3 separate regions of the Homo sapiens genome follow, and regions 2 and 3 are each linked to region 1. The links are contacts of gene promoters, found by promoter capture Hi-C in blood cells and fetal thymus (Javierre and others, 2016). All regions are on one chromosome and are shown on one strand. The core of a region is centred on a gene start or on the middle of the fragment in contact, and the rest is flanking DNA. Distances in the headings are between cores, read along the strand shown. Region 1 holds the start of CD58 (CD58 molecule). Region 2 overlaps TTF2 (transcription termination factor 2). Region 3 overlaps TTF2 (transcription termination factor 2).

What was found. The method cuts DNA at HindIII sites, captures the fragments that hold promoters and counts their contacts. A CHiCAGO score of 5 or more calls a contact.
Region 2: a contact is called between a fragment that was not itself captured here and the fragment with the promoter of CD58 in region 1, in 1 of 17 cell types (non-activated CD4 T cells). The highest score is 5.6, in non-activated CD4 T cells.
Region 3: a fragment that was not itself captured here is called in contact with the fragment with the promoter of CD58 in region 1 in 1 of 17 cell types (activated CD4 T cells); the score reaches 5.8 in activated CD4 T cells.

The regions. Positions count from the first base shown.
Region 1 is chr1:116,568,599-116,572,669 of GRCh38, forward strand. It overlaps CD58 (CD58 molecule), which reads right to left and starts at 2,428. Exons shown (of 6, transcript NM_001779.3): 1 at 2,305-2,428. The coding sequence starts at 2,374. It overlaps LOC124904385 (a long non-coding RNA gene), which reads left to right and starts at 2,377. Exons shown (of 2, transcript XR_007066497.1): 1 at 2,377-2,455. RefSeq lists an enhancer at 1,500-1,559 and silencers at 2,030-2,099, 2,170-2,629. The HindIII fragment of the contact is 6,609 bases long and covers 1-4,071 here.
Region 2 is chr1:117,102,219-117,106,289 of GRCh38, forward strand. It overlaps TTF2 (transcription termination factor 2), which reads left to right. Exons shown (of 23, transcript NM_003594.4): 23 at 1-4,071. Among named protein-coding and RNA genes, the nearest start is that of MIR942, 9.6 kb to the left of the region's middle. The HindIII fragment of the contact is 5,602 bases long and covers 1-4,071 here.
Region 3 is chr1:117,086,003-117,090,073 of GRCh38, forward strand. TTF2 (transcription termination factor 2) reads left to right here. Exons shown (of 23, transcript NM_003594.4): 12 at 415-520; 13 at 2,799-2,980; 14 at 4,053-4,071. Among named protein-coding and RNA genes, the nearest start is that of MIR942, 6.6 kb to the right of the region's middle. The HindIII fragment of the contact is 4,715 bases long and covers 1-4,071 here.

The DNA of each region.
Region 1 (4,071 bases), core at 1,178-3,677:
GGCAGGGAACTGTGCATAGCTTGCTGTATCCCCCGTCCATTGTGCAGTGCTTAACATATAATTGACACTCAGTAAATATTTATTGCATGACTGATGTTCCCAGTAATTCTATGAAGTGGGTTTATTATTCTCCTTTCCCTCATGTGAGTGGTACTCTCTTCAAAAGTGAAGGTACTGAAGTGAAGAGAAGTTAGGGAACTCACACAAGTTCATGACTCAGGTGAGGAGTGGGGCCAGGATCCAAAGCTAGGCATCTGACCCCAGAGCTGATGCTGTTAATCACTGCATTTGCAGCTTCCCTAATGAGGCAGGCTTGGGTCCCCAAAAGGGGATATACCCATTCAGTCTTGTCTTTAGTTTAAGGCCTATGCAGAGCAGTTTATAAATACATGTTTGCTGAATCAAATGACTTCTGAATGAATACATGAATTAGGTGAGAGAGATCACCAGGAAGGGACAGTTCAAATAATCTGTTGGAGGTGGAGCTTGGGCAAACTGGGTTTGCAGTGGAAGGGAGAACACAGGTACAGGCAGCAGTGACCCAAGGTGCCAGGGAATGAGGGACCAGCTTGCCTGGAGGAGAGTTACCCCATCCATTCAATTAATCCCTGTTTGTATCTCTTCTTTTCCCCAGCCACCCGCACATGAACTCCCCAGAGCTATTTGGGCCCTGTGATGGTAGTCCACCCTGGCCTTCTGGCCTCCCTGCCTCCAATTCCTCCTGACTGCAGCCTTCCTCTTTGTTGCTAACAGATTCTTCTTCCCAGGCGCATGGTCCTGATCCTGTAAGGCCCAGGAGAAGCTCTCTCAGCTCAGAGAATCCAGACTCCCTAAGGGGACACTCAGCAATCTTTTCCCACATTATCACATGTCCACACATCACCAGTCCTTGAAGGCTGGGCTCAAATATCCTCCCTCCCATGAAGACTGCTTCACAAAAGACACTTGATTTCACAAAAGAGACTGCCTTCTTCTTCCCTCTGTACCCTCACAGCTCACCTTTTTTTTTTTTTTTTTTTTTTGAGACAGGTCATATTCTGTCACCCAGGCTGGAGTTCAGTGGCACAATCACAGCTCACTGCATCCTCTGCCTCCGGGACTCAGGTGATTCTCCCACCTCAGCCTTCCGAGTAGCTGGGACTATAGGTATGCGCCACCACGCTCAGCTAATTTTTGTATTTTTTGTAGAGCCGATCTTTCACCGTGTTGGCCCTGCTGGTCTCCGATTCCTGGCCTCAAGTGATCCACCTGCCTCAGCCTCCCAAAGTGCTAGGATGACAGGTGTAAGCCACCACGCCCAGCCCAGGCCTCTTACAACACTGACTTATCTGATCGTGCGGGTACTTTTGAGTCTATCTCAACCCCTCCCCCTTGGCTGTCTTCCATAGATGCACACGCGCACCTCCCGGGCAGGCAGCGGACGCTGAGCAAACGGACGGACGGGCTGGAGGGCTGGCAGTGGGGTGCAGGAGCCAGCCATGAGAACCCCTCAAGTACAGTTGAACTCGCTGGGAGGTTACTGCTGTACTCCCGGGGTTTTGCTATGGCCTGACTGGGGCCAATGTGTGGAGGGTGAAGGAGGATGGGGAGGCAAAATGGGAAGAAGGGGACCTATTTCCTGAGGTTGTTGTGACGACTTGGCTGACAACACACGGAGAGGATGGAACCAGTTCTGATACTAGTTTTTAGGATTTGAGGGGAGGAAAAAGGAGCAGGAGTCGCACCACTTAGGAATCCCAACGTGAGGCCGCTGCCGACTGGGCTTCCTAGTTGCCTACCCGCTCCTCGCTGTGGGGCGATTCTGAAAAGTCCTCTCTGCTGATACGGCGGACGCCGCGCGGGCGGGGACGGCACCGCGCGGGGAGGGCAGCAGGCGTCGCCCTCGAGCAGGTGGCATCCGCGCCCGCTCCCCGTCCCGGGCGCGTTCACGGCTGGGAAAAATTTTGCAGTCCGCTGAAGCGCTCAGCGACGTTACTGGGGAAGCCCAGGAAGGAACTTGGTCACTGGAGCTCGGGAGGGGGCCGGCGGGGGGGCGCAGGCCCCGCAGGAGAGGCTAGCGGGCCGGAGCCCGTCCTTCCCTAAGGCCACACAGTTCCTTGCTGACTCCATGAGGGACACTGGCGATGAAATAACAACTTTCTCTTCCTGAAAAGGCTCCCACGGCTGAGTTGTTCCCGGCCCACAGCGACCCGTCCCCACCCGTCTCTGATCGGCAACCGCCTCGAGCCCGGCGCGTCCACCCAGCCTGGGTGCTGCCCAGTACCCGCCGGCCGGCGCGGGGCCCCTGGGGCAGGCTTCACTCACCAAAGCAGTGCAGCAGGCAGACCACGCTGAGGACCCCCAGGGCCCGCCCCGCGTCGCTCCCAGCAACCATGGCTCGTCGGGCCGGCCTCTGCGCGAGTGCCCAGCCACAAGCAGCCCTAAGTTCAAGCACCGCCTACGCGGTCGGCCAGAAGTAGGGCTCCGCCCCGCCCTGGGCTGGCAGCCGGCGGCCCGCCCCGGCCCTTCCTCCCCCACCCTCCGCGGCGCCGCGTTTGTCTTCGCGCTTCCACTCCCCGGGCGCGCCTCTGGCCTCGGCTCTGCGCGCCTCCTTCCTGTGTCCCCGGGGCGCCGTCCAGTCCCCCAGCTCGGTCCCTCCCGTCATTCCGCCGCCATTCCATACGCTATTTTTAAGTAAGAAATTCTTTCCTTGAAAATGGCTTGGTTTTAAAAACCAAGGTTTTAAAGTAAGAAATTCTTTCCTTGAAAATGGCTTGGTTTTAAAAACCAGGTTTCTCTGCCTTCCTACCGCACCTCCCGCGCTTCCCCTTAGCGTTTGGGGCGTGCTGTAGGCCCCTCCGTGGCTAGACGGGGCTGTGGCTCCCAGAGAGCCACCGGAGGAGGCAGCAGGACGGGCGGGAGCACCCGGGGCCCCTCATCCCTTCAGCGCTGTGTGATCCCGCATCAGACGGCCTCTTTGAACCACTTTTCCTCAAACATGACAAGGAAAGGGAGCATTTTAGACAACTGTTAGGCGTAGGGTTACCTGAGGCAGGCCTCCCCCGTCCCCATACTCCCTTATCCCCGGAGCTGGGATTTCCAGCCTTTGGTTTCTCCCTTCTCAGATTCCTCTTTTTCTGTCTTCCCCCATCTCAACCGGGACTTTCCCTCAGGCTGAGATGTCAGATCCACATCTCCCTCACTGCCCAGCCTCCCCACATCCATCCAGCCCAAGCTGAGGCAGGCACTCATCACTCTCCCCGCTCTTCATCAGTCTGGATTGAGCTGGCCCTCCCCTCACATCCCTATATCCCAGAACAAATGACCCTATTCCCAGAACCAGCTCCTCACATCAGCCTCCCTGTCTGTCCCCTTTCTTGCAGACAGAAGCACCAGAGTTGCCCCTGCCCAGCTGAGGGAGTTCACAGAACTCTTAGTTATTATGTGAGCAGGAATCCATTTCCATGAACAGGACTCCCTGCTGCCCAAATAACCACCAACACATACATGGTGCAGGTTGTGAAACTGAGTGGGAATGTGCTTTCTTGCTGCTTCACCTCCATTATCCCCAGGTGGGGACTCGAAGTCACTCAAGACACTTGAACCATATTGCAAAGAGACATGAATTATTTCTTAAGTTAGCCATAAAATCTTAAAAGGTATCTCTATCAGTGAAACTTCTGGGACCAATGCCCTCTACCACAAACCTGCTATCTCGAGATATTCCCTACCATCTGTAGATACTGGGAACACAAGGCAGGGGCAGTGTGTAACATAAAATATGAGGAAATCAAGTGTTCTCTGCCCTGGGCTGGTAGGAACTCAGGCCAACTTAGAAAGGCAGGATGGGGTTAGACCTTCAGACACTGGGGAGCCACAGAAAGTTTTTGAGCTGGGAAGTGATATGACAGCAAACATCTATTGAGCAGGCCCTGTGTGAAGTGCATTGCTTGGATTAACTTAGTCTTACTGCTGCTGTTGTTTTTGCAAATGAGGAAACTGATGCCTGGGGAAGGTAAATTACTCAGGGCACACAGTAAAGGGCAGAACTTGGAGTCCAGCTGAGGCCATGTCCAATGCCTCTACTCTTAT
Region 2 (4,071 bases), core at 1,169-3,668, 530 kb after region 1:
CCTTCTCTAACACAGGCTCCATCCTATCTCTTCATCTCTTCTTGCCAGTGATGTTGCACCTGTAACCATCTTTTTATGGGTGGAGCAGAGAGTCAATCCCTGCAGCCACCCTGCAGCCAGCCATCTCTGCAGTTCTCTCAGTGCAGGCAGTTCTTCCTCTCAGGCTGAAGATCAAGGAGATGCTTTGTACATGAACAGATGCTGAGTATCTGTTATCATTGTATTGTTTAGTGTCAGTGTATCATTTAGTATTTGTATCACTGTACCATTTAGTGTTGTATATCACTCAGTCATTTAATATTGGTTATCACCATACAGTTTAATATTTGTATCATTTGGTTCATTGTATCGTTTAGTATTTCTATTATAACATTTCTATTTGTAGTATTTGTATAATATTTGTGTCATTTTTAATAGTATTTGTATTTTTACAAATTTGCAGTATTTGTAGCATTTAGTATCATTGTTTCATTTAGTATTTGGTACAATCTAATAAATACTAATCCAGTCCAATACTAATCCAATCCAATACTAATAATACTATTGGTACAATCCAATACTAATAATACTATTGGTACAATCCAATACTAATAATACTAACAGTAGTATTGATACAATCTAATAAATAATGTGTTTGACAGTGTAGCAGAAATAATGCTATGTGTTCACCAAACCCACTTCCTTTTCCTCCCGGGCACCCAGAGAGACTGTATTTCCCAGTTTTTGCTGCAGTTTGACGGGGTCCATATCAATGGACTGTGGAGAGAAGCGATTGATGTAAGTCACTTCTAGGTGGCCCTCTACCACTTTCCAAAAGATCATTCATGCTGTTTCTTCCCTCCTCAGCCTATGGGATGCAAAGGAACTGATGGAAGATTACAAGGCCCTAGGGAAGGTGAAGCCACTAGCTCAGCAGTTCTTAGCCTAGTTTTTGGCCATCAGCCCTTCTATTAGACTAGTGAAGCCTCAGTCCCAGGATGGCTCCCCATGTACACTTCCCTCCTCGCCCCAGCTCACCTACACTGGACTATGACATGATCAAGGAATCTTTTTTTTTAAGCTACTGAGATTTCTGTGTTGTTTACATAGCAGTTTGTACCCTAAACAAACACTTGAGATTTTATACTTCAGGAAACTATTCAGATTTCCTTCTCATTAGCAATTGTTCCAAAAACACTTACTCTGCTAATTTCTGCTAGAAAGAATCACAGTTCTTCTAACACAGAAACATTTCTGTCCCTTGAGTTGGGAAACAAGACCCTATGTTAACCCAGTCAGAGTGTGGACTGAGGCATTCGGAGCCTATTTAAGCAGAAGTTTTCTATAAGGACAAGATTTAAAGGCTTACAAAGGTAAAGACAATGGCCTGGTGGGAAGAATTCTAGTCTAGAACGTTTGAGATTTGACTCTAGTTCTAGGTTCATCTTAGCTGGGTGTGTAACGTTGAAAAAATTGGCCGGGTGCAGTGGCTCAGGCCTGTCATCCCAGCACTTTGGGAGGCCGAGGCAGACGGATCACGAGGTCAAGAGATCAAGACCATCTTGGCCAACATGGTGAAACCCCGTCTCTACTAAAAATACAAAAATTAGCTGAGCGTGGTGGCGTGCGCCTGTAGTCCCAGCTACTGGGGAGGATAAGGCAGGAGAATCGCTTGAACCTGGGAGGTGGAGGTTGCAGTGAGCTGAGATCGCGCCATTGCACTCCAGCCTGGTGACAGAGCGAGACTCCGTCTCAAAAAAAAAAAAAAAAAAAAAGAGAGAGAAAAAAATCCTTACTTTCTCTACACTCTGATTTCCTCATTTGTAAGGTGGGCAGTTTTCAGAACTTAGCAGCAATAAGGTTTCTGATAAAATCAAGAAGCAAAGGAAGTAACATTGCCTTTTTGAAGTTTTGCTATAAGATTGACATACCAAGGTAAAGATTGAGTCACCTGAGAAGCAGTGGCTCCCAGGCCAGCAAGAATGTACAAACCTGGCTCTGCCATTTGCTGATTGATATTAGGCAAGTTGCAGATTCCTTGGACATCTCAATCCTTTCATCTGTAAAATGTGTGGATTAGCATGTATCTCATGCTCCACTGGGAATTTCATAGCAAATATATATACTACAACATGGTTGACCAGATAGATCAGTAATGTCAACTAGAAGGTATTAGATGAACATTGTCAGTCTCCAATCAAGCATTGTTTAGGGGAGAGGAATTCTTTCAGGTTCAAGCATTCTGGCTTTTAGTTTGGAGAGGGATGCAGGGATTGTAACTTAAAATCTTCAGATATTGAGGCCATTGACAAGTAATCTACTGTAAGGTAGATGCCTCCTGGTATTTTAAAACAGCTTTTCTAATTTCTCATGTTATTGTACATAAGCAAAGCAACCTAGTTATGTCTTGGGTAGGTGTTCTTATAGCCGTGAGATGCTACTGACTTGAGGTGGATGCAGAAAAAAATGGAACCACTGCCTTAATGGGATGGAATATACTAAACATGCATTCTTAAATCCTAGTGCTGGGATGGATTACATGAATTACATTGTGGAGCTGCATATGTGTCTCCCCTCTTCCCTCCCTGGGGGTTAGGCTGGGTTTGTTTGGTTTTTTTTGTTTTGTCCTCATGAGGCTTAGCATCTAAGGGAGACAGGCATGAATTAACAGAAGTGGCATTCTGGTATCTGTCTCAGCCTCATATTCATTTTAGTGTAAATCAGTTTCGTCAAGTCTAGGTATGACAAGGTGGGTCTTTGCACCTTCTAGCGATGGGCAGCATCCCACAACACAGTGGTCTAATTGAGGTGCTGCACTATGAGTCCTGCCTGTGTTAACCAGCCTTCCTTCATGTCACAATACTGCTGCTGGATTTGCTTTTTACATCTGCCTATTGCACCTGACTTGGGCATGGATGATATGAGGTAATAAATGCTTTGAAAACCATGAAGGGCCACACAAGTGCTAGTGTTATTGCTGTGGGACAAGGTCTGGGAATATGAGAACCAGCAGCAGCATGGGTGCAGCTGAGAACCAGATGGTGAACATCTGTCTCCAAAGTGCAACATTCCTGAGCACCGGATTTATAAGGCATTTCTTACTCGACAGAATTGACTTCATGGAAGGTATGTAGTTTGACTTTGCCTTAGCCATGTTGATCAAATAGGAGTATTGTGCATGCCGCAGCTAGACAGAGTCCTGGGCCCTTTAAAAACCTTGTCAGTGACTCCCATTGCAGGCCCAGCGCAGTGGTTCACACCTGTAATCCCAGCATTTGGGAGGCTGAGGCAGGCAGATCACTTGAGGCCAAGAGTTCGAGACCAGACTGGCCAACATGGCAAAACCTCCTCTCTACTAAAAATACAAAAGTTAGCCAGGCGTGATGTTGGGTGCCTGTAATTGCAGCTACTCGGGAGGCTGAGGCAGGAGAATCACTTGAATCCAGGAGGCGGAGGTTACAGTGAGCTGAGATCATACCACTGCACTCCAGCCTGGGCCACAGAGAAAGAACGGTGATTCTTTCTAGCAGAAATTAGCAGAGTAAGTGTTTTTGGAACAATTGCTAATGAAAAGAAGGAAAAACAGAAAAAAAAAATTTTCTGTTTATGGGAGGTGACTTATTTCTCTATCAATCCTGTGAGTGATTTAGCATGGCAATTCATGAACACTGAGTTGTTTCCTTGCTCTGATTGTCTGTTGCTCAATGAAATGGCTTTTAGCAGGGCTCAAAGGTGAAGCCAGATTCTCCTGCACTAATAGGATAAGCATGGAGACACCAGTGTTCAGTGTGGCCTCTGGTTGTCTGAAATTTTGCTGTCAACTCTAATACCTTGAAAGAATTAGGTTTCCAAAGTGGGATATTGTGCTGCTGTTTGTGATATAGCATCTAGACTTAGGAAAGGGCAGGAACAATTTAAAAGCACATCTGTAGGCACAAAGAGAATTATAATAGAAATTCAGAATTCCTAGGCATATGACCTAGACTAAAATGTCTTCATAACTACAAATGAAATCAGGGTCATTTATAGTACAAACTACCACAGAAGTCAGTAGTTAGGGGATGGAGATAGATATGAAAAAAAAAAAAAGCA
Region 3 (4,071 bases), core at 962-3,461, 520 kb after region 1:
CATCCATCTCAAATCATTATTAAATGTTAATTCCCAACTCTATCCTACTTTCTGTTATTTCCCAACTCTATCCTACTTTCTGTTCTGGCCAGATCATATTAAGCATTATATTATCCCAGCCAGAGAATTTTCTTTCTGACTCACTGGATGGTAAGAGGGAGGCTGTGGTAGCTATAGTGAGCAGACGGTAAATGATCAGAGGTAAGAGATAGGGAAACCCAAGTGGGTAAAATTTACCTCCAAAATGTGTGTGTGTGTGTGTGTGTGTGCGTGTGTGTGTTAAGGACACAAGTTAATGAGTTCTGCTGTTTGTCCTTCCATTTGTAGGCATTTTTATTGAAAGATCAACTCTGCCTCTCTCATTGTCCCTCTATAGTGGGACCATTTATTGATTTCTTTGTTATGTCTACGCAGCCTCTCTACATATGACATCGTGATCACTACCTATAGCCTCGTGGCCAAGGAGATTCCCACAAACAAGCAAGAGGCAGAGATCCCAGGTGCAAACCTCAATGTGGAGGTGAGGCTGGGGGGCAGCCAGGGAAGTGGAGTTGGAGCCACAGATGGTTTAATGGGAGTCTTTCTCAGCCTCCACGATAGCAAGAGGACCTCCCTGGAGGTCAGGAATGCTGTAAATGATCCGCATGTGGAAAGGAATTGTTCTTTCCTCTATCCCATCACCCTTATTCCAGACAACCACCTCAGTGATAAAGATCAACCTATGCCACAGGATTCAGCTGCCTTTTAGAATGAAAGATGACTGCATTGTATTTGTGGGGGTAATAATCACCTGAATATATAAAAGCCTTACTTGTTGCTATTTTTATTTTAGAGTATTTGGGGTATATACTCATGATATTTTTAATATTTATTGTGCAGACTAGTATTTTACTACTAGTATTTTGATTTTAAGCCATCTTTCCCTGCCTCCCTTTACTTCCCAGAAAAAAAAAAAGGGTTGCAAATAATAAGGCCAGAGGCTAAGTGACAATTGTGAATACGTGATGGTCTTCTAGGGTGTCCAGGGCAGCCTCAGTTATGTGATGTAGAGGCTTTATCATGTAATTATACTCTGAAAATACAGTATTATCCCAAGAACTCATTTTTCTATATGTTATCCTTTTAGCCCAACGGGATATTCACAGGTTTCTGTATTTGGAGAGATCTCTAGAACATTTCTCCAGCTTATAACCAACTCTGACTTATAGATGATGAACTTTTCAGATTGCTCACTGGTTTTCCATTGCTTTTGGGATAAACCCTAAATTTCTTTTCATGATGTATTAGGCTTCATTTATTTATTTATTTGAGGCAGAATCTCACTCTGTCGCCCAGGATGGAGTGCATGGTGCGATCTTGGCTCACTGCAACCTCTGCATCCCGGGTTCAAGCGATTCTCCTGCCTCAGCTTCCCAAGTAGCTGGGATAACAGGTGCCCGCCACTATGCTCGGCTAATTTTTTGTATTTTTAGTAGAGATGGGGTTTCGCCATGTTGGCCAGGCTGGTCTCGAATTCCTGACCTCAAGTGATCCACCCGCCTCGGCCTCCCAAAGTGCTGGGATTATAGGCATGAGCCACCATGCCTGGCCATATTAGGCTCTTTATGATCTTGCCCTACCTGTATGTCGCTCATCTCTTGATGACACCCTGCCCCTCCCTGGGGCACCTCTTGCTCAGTCATACCAAGGGATCTGTAGTTCCCACCATGCTCTGTCACAGTGTTGTGTCTGTTCTCCCTCCGAATGAAACGCTTTGCCTCCACTCCTTCTCCCAGGTTAATTTTTTTAAACCTGCTTCAAGAATCTTTTCTGGACCACTCCCTTCCCACCTTCCCCCGGTTTGGTTGAATGCCTCTGCCAGCACCTTGTGCTTACATAAGTTATAGCACTTTGTTTCTTCAGCAGACGTTGAGTATCCACTATGGGTCAGGTGCTGTTTCGTCAAGAGCAGCCAGATTCCCACTTCAGGTATTGAACTAGCCAGTGGGACTTACTATATCTATATCGTATTGTAATTATCTTTACACTTGTTTTTCTCCCCTGCTAGATTTTGAGCTCTTGCAGGTAGGAACTGTTTTTTATATCTGGTTTAGCATCTCACATCTAAAAGTAGACTTTTGGAAAATTGTTAGTAAATTTAGTAAAATTTAGTAAATGTTTTATTGAGTGAGTGAATTTGCAGGTTCAATGCCTGGTGTAGTCATGGTCTACAGCCATTGCTTAAGTGTGTATTTAAAGAATAAAAGAAAAGTCGGCTGGGCGCGGTGGCTCATGCCTGTAATCCCAGCACTTTGGAAGGCCGAGGCGGGTGGATCACGAGGTCAGGAGATCGAGACCATCCTGGCTAACACGATGAAACCCCGACTCTACTAAAAATACAAAAAATTAGCCGGGTGTGGTGGCGGGCGCCTGTGGTCCCGGCTGCTCGGGAGGCTGAGGCAGGAGAATGGCGTGAAGCCCGGAGGCGGAGCTTGCAGTGAGCCGAGATCTCGCCACTGCACTCCAGCCTGGGCGACGGAGCGAGACTCCCATCTCAAAAAAAAAAAGGAAACCCAAATTTGAAAACATTTTACTCTTAGACATCTTATGTTCAAAGACTGAGACTCTCAAATAACTTATTTGAACCAGTTGAGACGTTTTACTCTTGGGTTTCTTAATTCTTATTTCAGTGTACCTGAGCTAAGCAAATTTAAAGGTAAATGTGGGTCCTCCATGCTTGCCTGCTATTTCCCCTTGTGTCCTTAAGGACATGTACATTTTCCCATATTGTGGCTGGATTTCACTTGTGATTCTTCCAGGGCACCTCAACACCTTTGCTTCGAATAGCCTGGGCTCGAATCATATTGGATGAAGCTCACAATGTTAAGAATCCCCGAGTGCAGACTTCCATAGCTGTGTGTAAGCTACAAGCCTGTGCCCGTTGGGCTGTCACTGGAACCCCCATTCAAAACAACTTATTGGATATGTATTCGCTGCTGAAGTGAGTAACTTCTCGTGATTGTGTAAATATGAACCCTGTCTGTATCCCTTCATCATTATTTCATGTCTCATAATAAAGCCTTAGTATGTGCCAGATTATCTTGTTTAGGAGATGGCAGGCCTGTCAACCTTTAAAGGACAAAAGAATAAATATTTATGAGAAAATAGCTGTTGATTGGTTGATATAGGACTTTGATTACATTCAGCCCTTATATATATATGCAAAAATATAGGACTTTATATATGCAAAATATATGCAAAATATATGCAAATATATGCTATATATATATATATATGCAAAAATTATTCTTAAGTCCAGTGAATGTTTTCGGCTACTTCTGCTTTAAAACATATGGTCTAGGGCTAGCACTACAATTTATTTGAAGCAAACAAAAAAGAATGTTGATTTTAAAATATTTCCATTTGGCTGAGTGCAGTGGGTCATACCTGTAATCTCCACACTTTGGAAGGCTGATGTGGGAGGATTGCTTGAAGCCAGGAGTTCAAGATTAGCCAGGGGAGTAAAATGAGACCCCACCTCTACAAAAAATTAAAAAATTAGCCAGGCACAGGGGTGTACACCTGTGGTCCCAGCTGCTCGAGAGGCTGAGGCAGGAGGATCGCTTGAGCCCAGGAGTTCAAGGCTGCAGTGAGCTATGATTATGCCACTGCACTCCAGCCTGGGTGACAGAGCAAGACCTCAGTCTCTAAAGAAAAAAATTAAAAATAAAATACTTATTTTTATTCGAGTCAGCCATAAGAGGATGTGAAATTTCTTTCTTAGCTCCTGTAGCTTTAGGAACAAATTCTAGCTGTTGGTTATATGTCTTGTTGTGACAGCGTAGGCATCGTTAATAGGAAAACTCACATTTTTATAATGTGGTTTTGTTATTGACTTACATCCTTTTGATCTGTCCAGCAAAGGTTTGCTATGAAATTCACTTTTAAAAGTGATTGGATGACAGGTGTAACAGAAAATCTGATTTGTCATCTTATATCTTACTTTGAACCTTTATTCCATTCTCCCTGACTTTTCCTTCCCTACTCTGTGCCCTTCTTCCTCAACAAAAAAGGTTTCTCCGTTGCTCTCCA